Linked DNA regions of Homo sapiens: region 2 is linked to region 1. Evidence: promoter capture Hi-C in human tissues and cell types (Jung and others, 2019). All regions are on one chromosome and are shown on one strand. Each heading gives the region's core, a stretch centred on a gene start or on the middle of the fragment in contact. The rest is flanking DNA. Distances are from core to core; before and after follow the strand shown. Region 1 holds the start of FAM171B (family with sequence similarity 171 member B). Region 2 overlaps FAM171B (family with sequence similarity 171 member B).

Region 1 (5,191 bases), core at 1,506-4,005:
GCAAAAAGGATGTGCAGATTACTATTTTAAACACCTGGTCAGGAAAAGGTCTGTCAGTTACTGAGACACTTGAGCAAACCTGAAAAATGTGAAGTTCCAGAATTCCAGGCAGAGAAAATGGCAAGTGCAAAGGCCAAACACTTGGGTCCACTTGCAAGCTAAAGAAAATAGAGCTAGTGTGGCTACAGTGGAGAGAGTTAGGGTAAGGGCTAAAGGAGACGGGAGGAAAAGGAGGATACAAAGGATCTAGACCTTGGTAGGCCATTTTCACGATCTGGGCATCTAGTATGAGAGAGACGGGAAGCCATTGGAGGAGTGTGGGCAGAAATGATCCTATTTAATGTTTTTTTTTTTTTTAAAGATCGCTAGCTGTGTGAGGAGAACAGACAGTAGGGAAACAAAGGTTGAAACAGGAAGACCAGTTCAATGGAGAGATCACAATGCATTCAAAGGAATATTTTAACTTCATTTGTCTATAAGCTGTGTTGCATTATAAGACTCAATATTCCAATAACTAAAACAGCAATCAATTGAATTACTCCCTTGTTTGCCACTGGCTTGGGTAATTAGAGTTTTTGAGGAAGAAGAATCATCATAGGTTACTTCTCAGGTTCTAGTTTGATCTATCGAAGAGTGTGGTTCCTTTATCTCAATCTAATAGGTAAATAAAACAAAAACTGCTAATTTCCCAGACAATCAGCTTTTTCAGAATATTCCCTCACAAATATCAGAAAGCAAACATTTTAATTTGCATGCTGGATTCAGGTTTCATATTATTGCAGTAGTTCATAACCCTAATCACAACATATATATATATATTACAGTAGTCAAAATTCATTTAATATTCCTGAAAGGTCCATTGAAATAAAAATATACTGCAAACCATAAAACCCACCAACACTCTCCCAGACTTCGGCTTCATAGTGAATTTATGAAATATCTCTATTAATGAGGCCAATCAATCTGATATATCCAATTTCCTTAACTTTAGCGAACAGTATGTCTAACAGCAGCCTCACCCAAACCATATTATCACTTTCAGTTATTAAAAGCTGGGTAGGAAAACCACCATACACTGTATACCTTTCAAGACTTTTAGCCACACTTGAGTGTTATTAATTGGTTTAAGAGGGTGTCAGAAACACATGCTTTCCTGCACACTTTGGTGATTTCATCCTATGCTCAGAGCACTCTGATAAATTAAATCATCCTGGCTGTGTCATGAATCGCAGCTGGCATGCCTGTGTACTGCTTTTTGACGATGAGCAAGCAATACAAAATGTGATGCTGATTCCACTCTTTCAAATCTCATTTTCAGCACTCATATAGTGTTACCAGGCAGGATTTTAAAACAAAAACAAACGTCATAATAAAATTCACTTTGGTTTCACAAAACCTAAGCCCTCGTGCCAGAAAATTGGAGGCTTTTTTTCTTTCCAAATAGCAGACAAGAATCTACAGCCATGAAGCGAAGTGGGTTGCGGGGTAGGGAGATGCAATATACATGGATAATCTAGCTATTTGCTTACCGATGGAGCTTTAATGGGGGGAAAGAGGGAGGAACTGCGGAACTGTTACAGCCACCTATACTACAGCCGTATTTCTACACCTTCACTGAACAGTGTCAAGAATCTGCCTCATTTAAGTTCTACTAACAAGTAAGGAGATTTCTCTCTCTAGGGATAGGCTTTTGCTGTTCTAACACCACTCCAGACTTCACCTTATGTGTCCCCCTCTCCTTTTCCCTTTCCTTCAATTACAAACTCCTGTTTTGTTTTGCTTCATCTTATTGTACTAAAAGAGTTCTTTGCAATAAGATGAACCCTTAAACCCTTCCTGGGGTAAAGAGAAAGAGAAATAAATAATAAAATATATAAAGATTTCTCTCTTCATGGCTAAATTTAAATATAGCAGGCATGGAGAAATGGTGAAAAGGGGTGTGTGGGTGTCCATGGCAAGATTTCTCAGTCTCTAGGAGAGAAAAGGATAGAGAACAAAATGTTTAAGGGATTTAAGAACGGTGTGTGTGTGTGTGTGTGTGTGTGTGTGTGTGTGTGTGTGTGTGTTACAGTCATTCCCAGGGCAGAGGGTAGAATTCAGGAAGAAGGGAGGGAAAAGAAAAAGATCAATCCAGGCAGTCACCCACCCCCAGCCTTCCCGACCCCTCTCCAACCCACCGCAGTGCTCTGAGCTGCTCAGAAAGCTCATTACCCGGAGGGCAGATTCCCGACACCAGATCAAGGGACCAAAGGCTGGGCAGCCAGTCTGGGGAGAGAGATCGGGAGGGATGGTGACAGGAACGAACGAGGATAGGAATGGATAGGGAAGGGGCGAGGAAGCCGGCGAGGCCCTAAGAGATCGCCGGCCGAGACTGAAAGACCGGGCTGGGCAGCCAGGACCTACCTGGAACCGTCAAGGTGGAGGTTGCCCCAGGCACCTCTGTCCTCTCCTCCTCAGCCTCCTCCAGCTGCTTTTGCTGTTGTTGTTGTTGTTGCTGCTGCTGCTGCTGCTGTTGGATGAGGCTGAGGTCGGAGCGGCTGAGTTCCGCTCTGGCGGCCGCGGGGACCAGCCGCGCTTTCAGCAGCACCACGGCCAGGCCGAGAAGCAGGGTGCAGGGGACACGCCGGCAGAGCCTCGCCATGGCCTAGAGCCAGAGGGCCGCGGCGGCATATTGCGGGGCTCCGGGCGGCGGCGGGCGCCAGGGCTGCGGGCTCCTGGCAGCGCCCGCTCGCTCGCTCCCCCTCGCGCAATCTGCCAAGCACTCCCTCACCGGCAGGAGGAAGAGGCCCGGGAGGCGGAGGGGGCGGAGGAGGAGGGAAGGGGAGTTCGCATCCTCGCGCATGTGACGCGCGGGGAGGGGCGAGCCGGGGCCCGCGGTCCCGCGCCCCGCAGCCACCTGGGGCCAGGCTGCTCCGAGAGGACGCGATGCTGGGGCTGCAGCCCGGGTGGAGGGCCCTAGGGGAAACAGAAAGGGGAGGCCTTCTGGGAGCTGGTAGACCCTCACAGCGTCCACTTCCCACTGAGGCACCGGGAAGATTTGCAGAGAGTGGAATAAAATTCCTTCCACCTGAGCCCAAAGTAGCAGAGAAGGTGGTATATTGATTACCCCCATCCAGCACATAGCGTGGGTGGCACCAACGGATCAAAAAGCCAGGATCTCAAACAAATAGGCTTTGCTGCATCACCGCCATCATTGCTTAGCTAGAAGTTAAACTGCAGCGCGCCAGATTTTGACTAAACTTCTTTTCTCTGCCCTAGTGGGAATTTCTTTCCATATCATTAAATATTCTTAATTACATTTTATCTAATTCTAGCCTATCCTTTTCATTTGTTCAAAAAAATCTTACTAAATACTAGTTGCTTACCATGTGCCAGCATTTCTTCAGGTGCTTGGAATAAGTAAAATACAATCCCTGCATTCCAGGAGCTCAACATCTATTAGGGGAGAGGAACACAGGAACAAATTAGAACCCAATGTGGTGGCTACAAACAGAAAAGCAATACAAGTCCAGAGGTCTCAGAATTGGAAGAAAATATCTTGTGTATGTAGGGGCTATGAAACACCAGGAGAGGTAGAATATAAAAAAGAGTAAGACTTCCACACAGGAGAAATCAGGAACGTGGAAGAGTGTGTGTGTGTGTGTGTGTGTGTGTGTGTGTGTGTGTGTGAAGCCCAGATGTGTGTAAGCACAGTGGGCTTGCAAAAGTGTGAGCAATTATTCTAATGGAGGAATGACAGTGTTTTAGATTGAAAAGGAGAGTGGAGACCAGGTCATTAAAAAAATAATAATAACAAGCATTTCTATAGTACTTACTGTGTGCTCAAGTACTTCACATTTGTTAACTTCTGTAATAAACTTAGATGCTGTATACAGAAATTGAAATTCACACAGTAGATGATAATGAAAGAAATTAATCAGGGAAGAAACTTGCTACCAGTTGTGCATTTTAGGAGGATCACTTTGCTCTCAGTATGGCAGATGGATTAAAGGGGGATAAATTGGAAGAGAAGATGCCAGTTTAGAGGTGTTTGCCAAAACCCATAGGAGATGCCAAAGGTCATTGAAACTGAAAAGGAGAAGAAAAGAGTAGGAGACACAGTATATAAGACTACAATAAACAGATACGGTTAATTGGAAGAGGAGGAGATATGCCTAGTGTGACACCTAAATTGACAAATTGAGATCTTAGGTGGCTGCTTATGACCTTATCAACATTAACTGGCCTAGAGTAATGAGCCCTGCCTTGTTCAGTTGTGGTCTCTTTGTATTTGGAGTAACTGTGGGACATCTCATAGTGCAATATAAATGTCACCTGCTGTGACATCACCCCATTTACCATTGTAGTTCATTGTCCTTTTCCACCCTTATCATTCTTACCTTGTCCCTCCCAGTGTTTTCAATATGCTGGAAAACAACAAACTTCTCAGTACTGGAAAAGTATTTTTTGGTTAAGCAAATGAAAATAGTGTATATATAACTAATGGTTTAGATGTTTTGTCCTTTCCAAATCTCATATTGAAATGTGACCTCCAATGTTGGAGGTGGGGCCTAGTGGAAGGTCTTTGGTTCATAGAGGAGAATCCCTCATGAATGGCTTGGTGCCCTCTTCATGGTAATGACTGAATTCTTGCTCTGAGCTCACAAGAGATCTGGTTGTTTAAAAGTGTGGCAACTCCCTTCTCTCTCTCGCTTGCTCCCTCTCCTGTCATGTGACACGCTGTCTCCCTTTCACCATCCACCATGATTGTAAGCTTTCTAAGGTCTCACCAGAGCAGATGCCAGCACCACACTTGCGTTGTACAGCCAGCAGAACTGACCTAAAGTAAACCGCTTTTCTTTATGTCACCCGAAGTTTACTGCAATGCAAATGGACTGACACAATAACCATAAATAAAATAACAGTAGGTATTTTGCATCTATTATCTCATTATATCTTCAGAGCATCTCTACAAATTAGCTCTCATTATCCTATTTAGCAAATGGAAACACTGGAGATCAGAGAGGCTCCATGTCTTGCCAGAGGCTACATTTACAGTGTGTGACTTTACCTTTCTGCACCGTTTGAGACTTCTGCTATGAGTTTGTATTGCTTTTTTAGTGATTTTAAAACAAAAATAAGGTATGTGGACCACATAATTTTGGGGAAAATAGATACTAAAGTGAGGCCCCTCACACTAAACATCATTCTT
Region 2 (5,191 bases), core at 1,327-3,826, 36 kb before region 1:
TAATAATTGGTCACAACCAGCACCAGGGAAGGGCTGTCTCTCAATAGATAGAAAATCTGAAACTGGTGATCAGCAGCTTCCTGATGAGATCTCAGGAGTTGGGTGAGTGGGCCCAAGCATGTGCACTAAAAGGTAAAATAGCAGAGTTTAACTGAAATATGACCTTCCTCTAGGAACACTTAACTGGTAAGGGAAAATGCCTCAAGTGAGCATGTGTACAACTTCAATAAACACACTGCACATGCAGCCGCTCCCAAGTGCTAGCAGGCCACTGCACATGCAGACAGCCCACTCCGCAGGAAGAATCACAGAAGTAAAGCAACCCTGGAAGCTGCCAACACATAAGACCCCAAGTCAAAAATCAAACCGTGCATTTGAATCTCAAGTTGCCTGCTTGACCCTCTTCCACATGCACTTTACTTTTGTTCCTGCTCTAAAACCTTTTAATAAACTTTCATGCCTGCTCTAAAACTTGCCTTGGTGTCTCTCTGCCTTACACCCGTCAGTTGAATTCTTTCTTCTAGGAAGGCAAGAACTGAGGTGGCTGCAGACCCATGTGGATTCACCACTGCCAACACCACGAAGGACTCCAAAGCCATCTTGGAACTATGGAACAGTGGGGCTTGGGGTGACACTACTAAATTAACTCAAGTAATATATGATTGCAATCATCATTGAGAACTTAAATTCTTATAAAACATCAATTAAAAAGAAAAAGCACCCCCTGGCCATATACACACATACTCATGCCAAACCATGTCCTCAAACTCAAATGGAAAATATAACACTTGGGTTTAAAAAACAACAAAAAAAAGTTATAATAGTAAGATATATCAGTGCCTCCCAACCTTTTTGGCACCAGACTCTGGTTTCAGAGAAGACAATTTTTTCATGGACCACATTAGGGGATAGTTTCAGGATGATTCAAATGCATTACATTTATTGTGTACTTTATTATTATTACATTGTAATATATAATGCAATAATTATACAACTCCCCTCAGCGGGAGCCCTGAGCTTGTTTTCTTGCATCTAGATGGTCCCATCTCAGGGTGATGGGAGAGAGTGACAGATCATCAGGAATTAGATTTTCATAAGGAGCATGCAACCTAGATCCCTCACATGCTCAGTTCAAAATAGGGTTCATGCTCCTATGAGAAACTAATGCTGCCACTGATCTGACAAGAGGTGGAGCCCAGGCCATAATGTGAGTGATGGGGAATGGCTGTAAACATAGATGAAGCTTCACTGACTCACCCGCCGCTCACATTCTGCTGTGAGGCCCAGTTCCCGATAGGTCTCAGTATCTGTATCTGTCTGTGTCCCAGGGGTTTCAGACCCGATATATATGACATGATGGGCTTTCTTGGATAAGTAGTTGGATAGTATAAAAAACTATAAGTGTAGAGAAAAAGTAGCTGCTGCTCAATTTGAAATAATTCTCTCAGCCACCCAGCCCCTAATCCTTCAGTCAAAATTTACCGAGCCACTAGCATAAAGCACCCAACTAATATAAGCCAGATAGATTCTATCAGGACCTCAAAATGTGAATACAGTTACAGAGATGCTAATGGTTGCTGGAACTGAATTACCTTGGAAAGTCTATGAGGCCTTACCATTGTGCTTTCTAGTGCTTCCCTAGTCCCTCTCCTTCCAGAAGCTGGGTTGTGCAGCCCTTCCAGCTGATCTGTGAACTACATAATAATCTTTCCTAGAAAGCCCTTTCATTTCTTGTAGCCAGAGTTTGTTTCTGTTGCTTGCTCCTTAAGTAAGCACATTAAATATGTACAACTGTAAATAAAGGATACTATTTACTAGGCCACTATTTTATAGACATTGATACCTGTTACAGAATGTGAAGGAATTAAGGATAATGTTGAGTACCAAAAACATGATAAACCGCATGAGAGACAAACTGAACATAACTAACTCATAAGGGAATTAGGATCTCTATTCCAATTCAATAACAGATCTTATTCAAACCAAATGTACCTACAATGGCTCCTTCAACAGCATATTCAATAGGGAATTTTTATTAATTCATTTGTTTCAAAGTTCAATTTCAGAGATTCTCAGAGCCTTTGGATTTACAGATAAATCTCAATGTGTGGTAAGATCTTAAGCTAAATTCGCAAAAGAAAAAAAAAACTGCATATTCCATCTGTTTCATCCTTGTAAAAGTACAGTTGCCAAAATAAGACACACTAAAAACCCTCCTGACATTCTGAAGCTGGATTTGATTTATAAAATGTTTTCTAAAACGTTTTCTAATCCAGAATGGATGATTTTATTTTTTTCACATGCAATAATGTTAATATAAATCTGATAAGAAAATATCATATTTAGAAAAAAATAGATTTGCAAAGGTCAAGTCTTGATGATCCAAATCATAATCTCCCTCTCTGATGAGATCACCTATATCTATATCTTAAAGTGCTTAGTAGACTTAGTGCATAATACAGGCCTGACTAACAGGGTCCTCTCTAGCTCAAAATGGAAACAACTGACTTGCAGTTGTTTCCTCCTTAATGCCACTCAGTTAGAGCTGACATAATAAATTACAGGTTTTATACATACATACATACATGTTTACTTGTGTGACACACACACATATACAGCCCAGTGCTGGAAACTTTACACATATTGTCCAATTTCATCCTAATACACACCTGTAAGACATTTCCCAATTTTAAGGCAAGGAAATTGAGATTAAAACTGCACAGCTGGCCAGGTGTGGTGGCTCACGCCTGTAATCCCAGCACTCTGGGAGGCCAAGGCAGGTGGATCACGAGGTCAAGAGATTGAGACCATCCTGGCCAACATGGTAAAACCCTGTCTCTATTAAAAATACAAAAATTAGCTAGGTGTGGTGGCACGTGCCTGTAGTCCCAGCTACTCAGGAGGCTGAGGCGGGGGAATTGCTTGAACCCAGAGGCGGAGGTTGCAGTGAGGTGAGATCGTGCCACTGTACTCCAGCCTGGCTAGAGTGAGAGAGAGAGACTCTGTCTCAAAAACAAACAAGACAAAACAAAAAACAAAAAACGAAAAACTGCACAGCTAATAAGGTTATAGCCAGGATTCACAGGCAAGTCCCTCTGACACCAAGTCCCATGTACCACATTAACTCTTATTGAAAAGCATTAGGGATTTGGTTTTCATCATATTTACTAACTTATTTTCTCACAACCAATGCTCAGAAGGAAATTCTCATTCACTGACTCTCTGAGCCTCTTCTCCCCATCCTCAAACTTGGTTTGTCTCTCACCCTAGCACAAGCCACAGCAAAAGCAGCATTTAAAAAACAAAACAAAACAAAACAAAAAAAACCTCAGCTGAAAGCCTGGTCAAAGTAATTAATGAGGTATGAACAACTCTTTTCTATTTCAAGTAAAAGGAAAAGTTATAAAGAATTAGCTGCTTATGACTTAAACGGGATGCTTCTGATTTCCATGGTGTCAACAGCTTGATCAAGCAAGCAGCACAGTCAGCCAGAAGCAATATATATCCCTAATAATCCTCTACCAGTTCTCTCCTCCAGAAAAAAAAAAATACTTTGGCATTTAGACAGGGCAGATTCCATGATTAAATATCTGATTTTCAGCCGGAGGTGCTTTTGTCTACCTACCCTTCTCCAGTGTATTTTTTTAGCTTTCAATGAGCATATTTATTTTCTCTGTCACTTAATTATAATCATTATGTCTTGCCCACATAATCATCTTTTCAACATATCACTATTCGTTTTAAAATGGTTCAGTATTAAATGATTCAACTGCACCCTTAGAAAACATATAATCTAAATGTTGAGAAAAACCAAGTAAAAATAAAATACGTATCAGTGAGCTAGGTCCTGAGGTTGCTGGAGAAGATTTAACTATTTAGCAGATGGTTACAAGCATCGTTAAGTAGTGAGAATCACTAAAATTCAAATAATAATAAATAGGTATAAAGGAATATTCTAGAAAAAAATATTAAAACCAATACTATATTATGGTTTTCCTATGGAATACAAATAGGTAACTAAAAGTCCAAAAGGGCTTTAAAAATACTGCTAACTATATATATTTGGGTGACATTTACGTCTTTATGTAGGTGGGCTGAAAATATCACAATCCCACTTCTTTTCAAGAGACTCTGACATCATCCTATTATGTTGTCACCATTATGTAGGTTACAACTATACACATGGAGAAGCCACCTCATTTTCAGATTTATCCAGTACAAAAACTCACCTACTTCGTTTCCATTATGTTTCAAAAGCAAGTATCTATAATAATTTCATTTCATATGCTACAACTTAATCTCCTATAGGAATACATTGCTAAAATAAAAAGATTTTATAAACAGACTATAGGTCAAATTTTTAAAACAATATTTTAATGGGATAAATTCAAAATTTTTATTGAGTTTTATGTATCCTGAGAACTAGGAAAAATGAAGAACACAAAAATATAGTGGAATAAAATAGTTGGTTGGAAACAATAGAAATGTTCATTTACATGAATCCATTCAACAAATGTTTACTGATTACCTACTTTTCCTCAGATCTGCACGAGATGGGGATTGGGGATACAGACAGCAATAGAAAACAGACTTTCCTTGATGTATAATTCTGAGAGGAAACAACACGTGAAGAAAAATACAGAATTTCTGATATTACAATAAAGGAGGTAGAAAAGCAATATTGAAACAGACAAGAGAACTTCCTATAGTATCTAACACAATTTTCTAGAAATTATGTAGAAATTAATTTAGAATATGTATAAAAATTCCTCTAAGTATCAAAAAATGACACTAATATCTACTTTGCTATCAGTTTACACTATCATTTTTTTAACAGAAAGAATGTCAACATTTTGAGTCCAGATCATCTGAGGGCCTGCCCATGAATTCTCACCTATTTTTCATGATCTGACTTTTCTGTGGAGATGTTGTGGTAGGAACCCAAAAGATACCAGGCTTCTGCTTATCTCCCAAATCAGGCTTCTTTGGGGTCTATTCAGAGGCCTAGTTTGCTCTCTACCCACCATTTTCACACAAAATATTCAGCTACCAAGAAATCTTAGTTTAGAGGTAGGTATACCTGTAAACTATATCTATATAAATATAATATAGATACATATAACTACATATATAAATATCTGAAGAAATCTGGTTCCAAATTTAATTCCAAATTTAAATGTCCATGTATTTA

The links. Contacts are between HindIII fragments. The study calls those that stand out against the background at their distance.
Region 2: a fragment that was not itself captured here is called in contact with the fragment with the promoter of FAM171B in region 1 in 1 of the 25 tissues and cell types used here (pancreas).

What each region holds. Positions count from the first base shown.
Region 1 is chr2:186,691,624-186,696,814 of GRCh38, reverse strand. It overlaps FAM171B (family with sequence similarity 171 member B), which reads right to left and starts at 2,755. Exons shown (of 8, transcript NM_177454.4): 1 at 2,404-2,755. The coding sequence starts at 2,641. RefSeq lists a silencer at 2,592-2,951. The HindIII fragment of the contact is 10,077 bases long and covers 1-5,191 here.
Region 2 is chr2:186,727,793-186,732,983 of GRCh38, reverse strand. All of the region lies in intron 1 of FAM171B (family with sequence similarity 171 member B), which reads right to left. Among named protein-coding and RNA genes, the nearest start is that of FAM171B, 36 kb to the right of the region's middle. The HindIII fragment of the contact is 6,804 bases long and covers 1-5,191 here.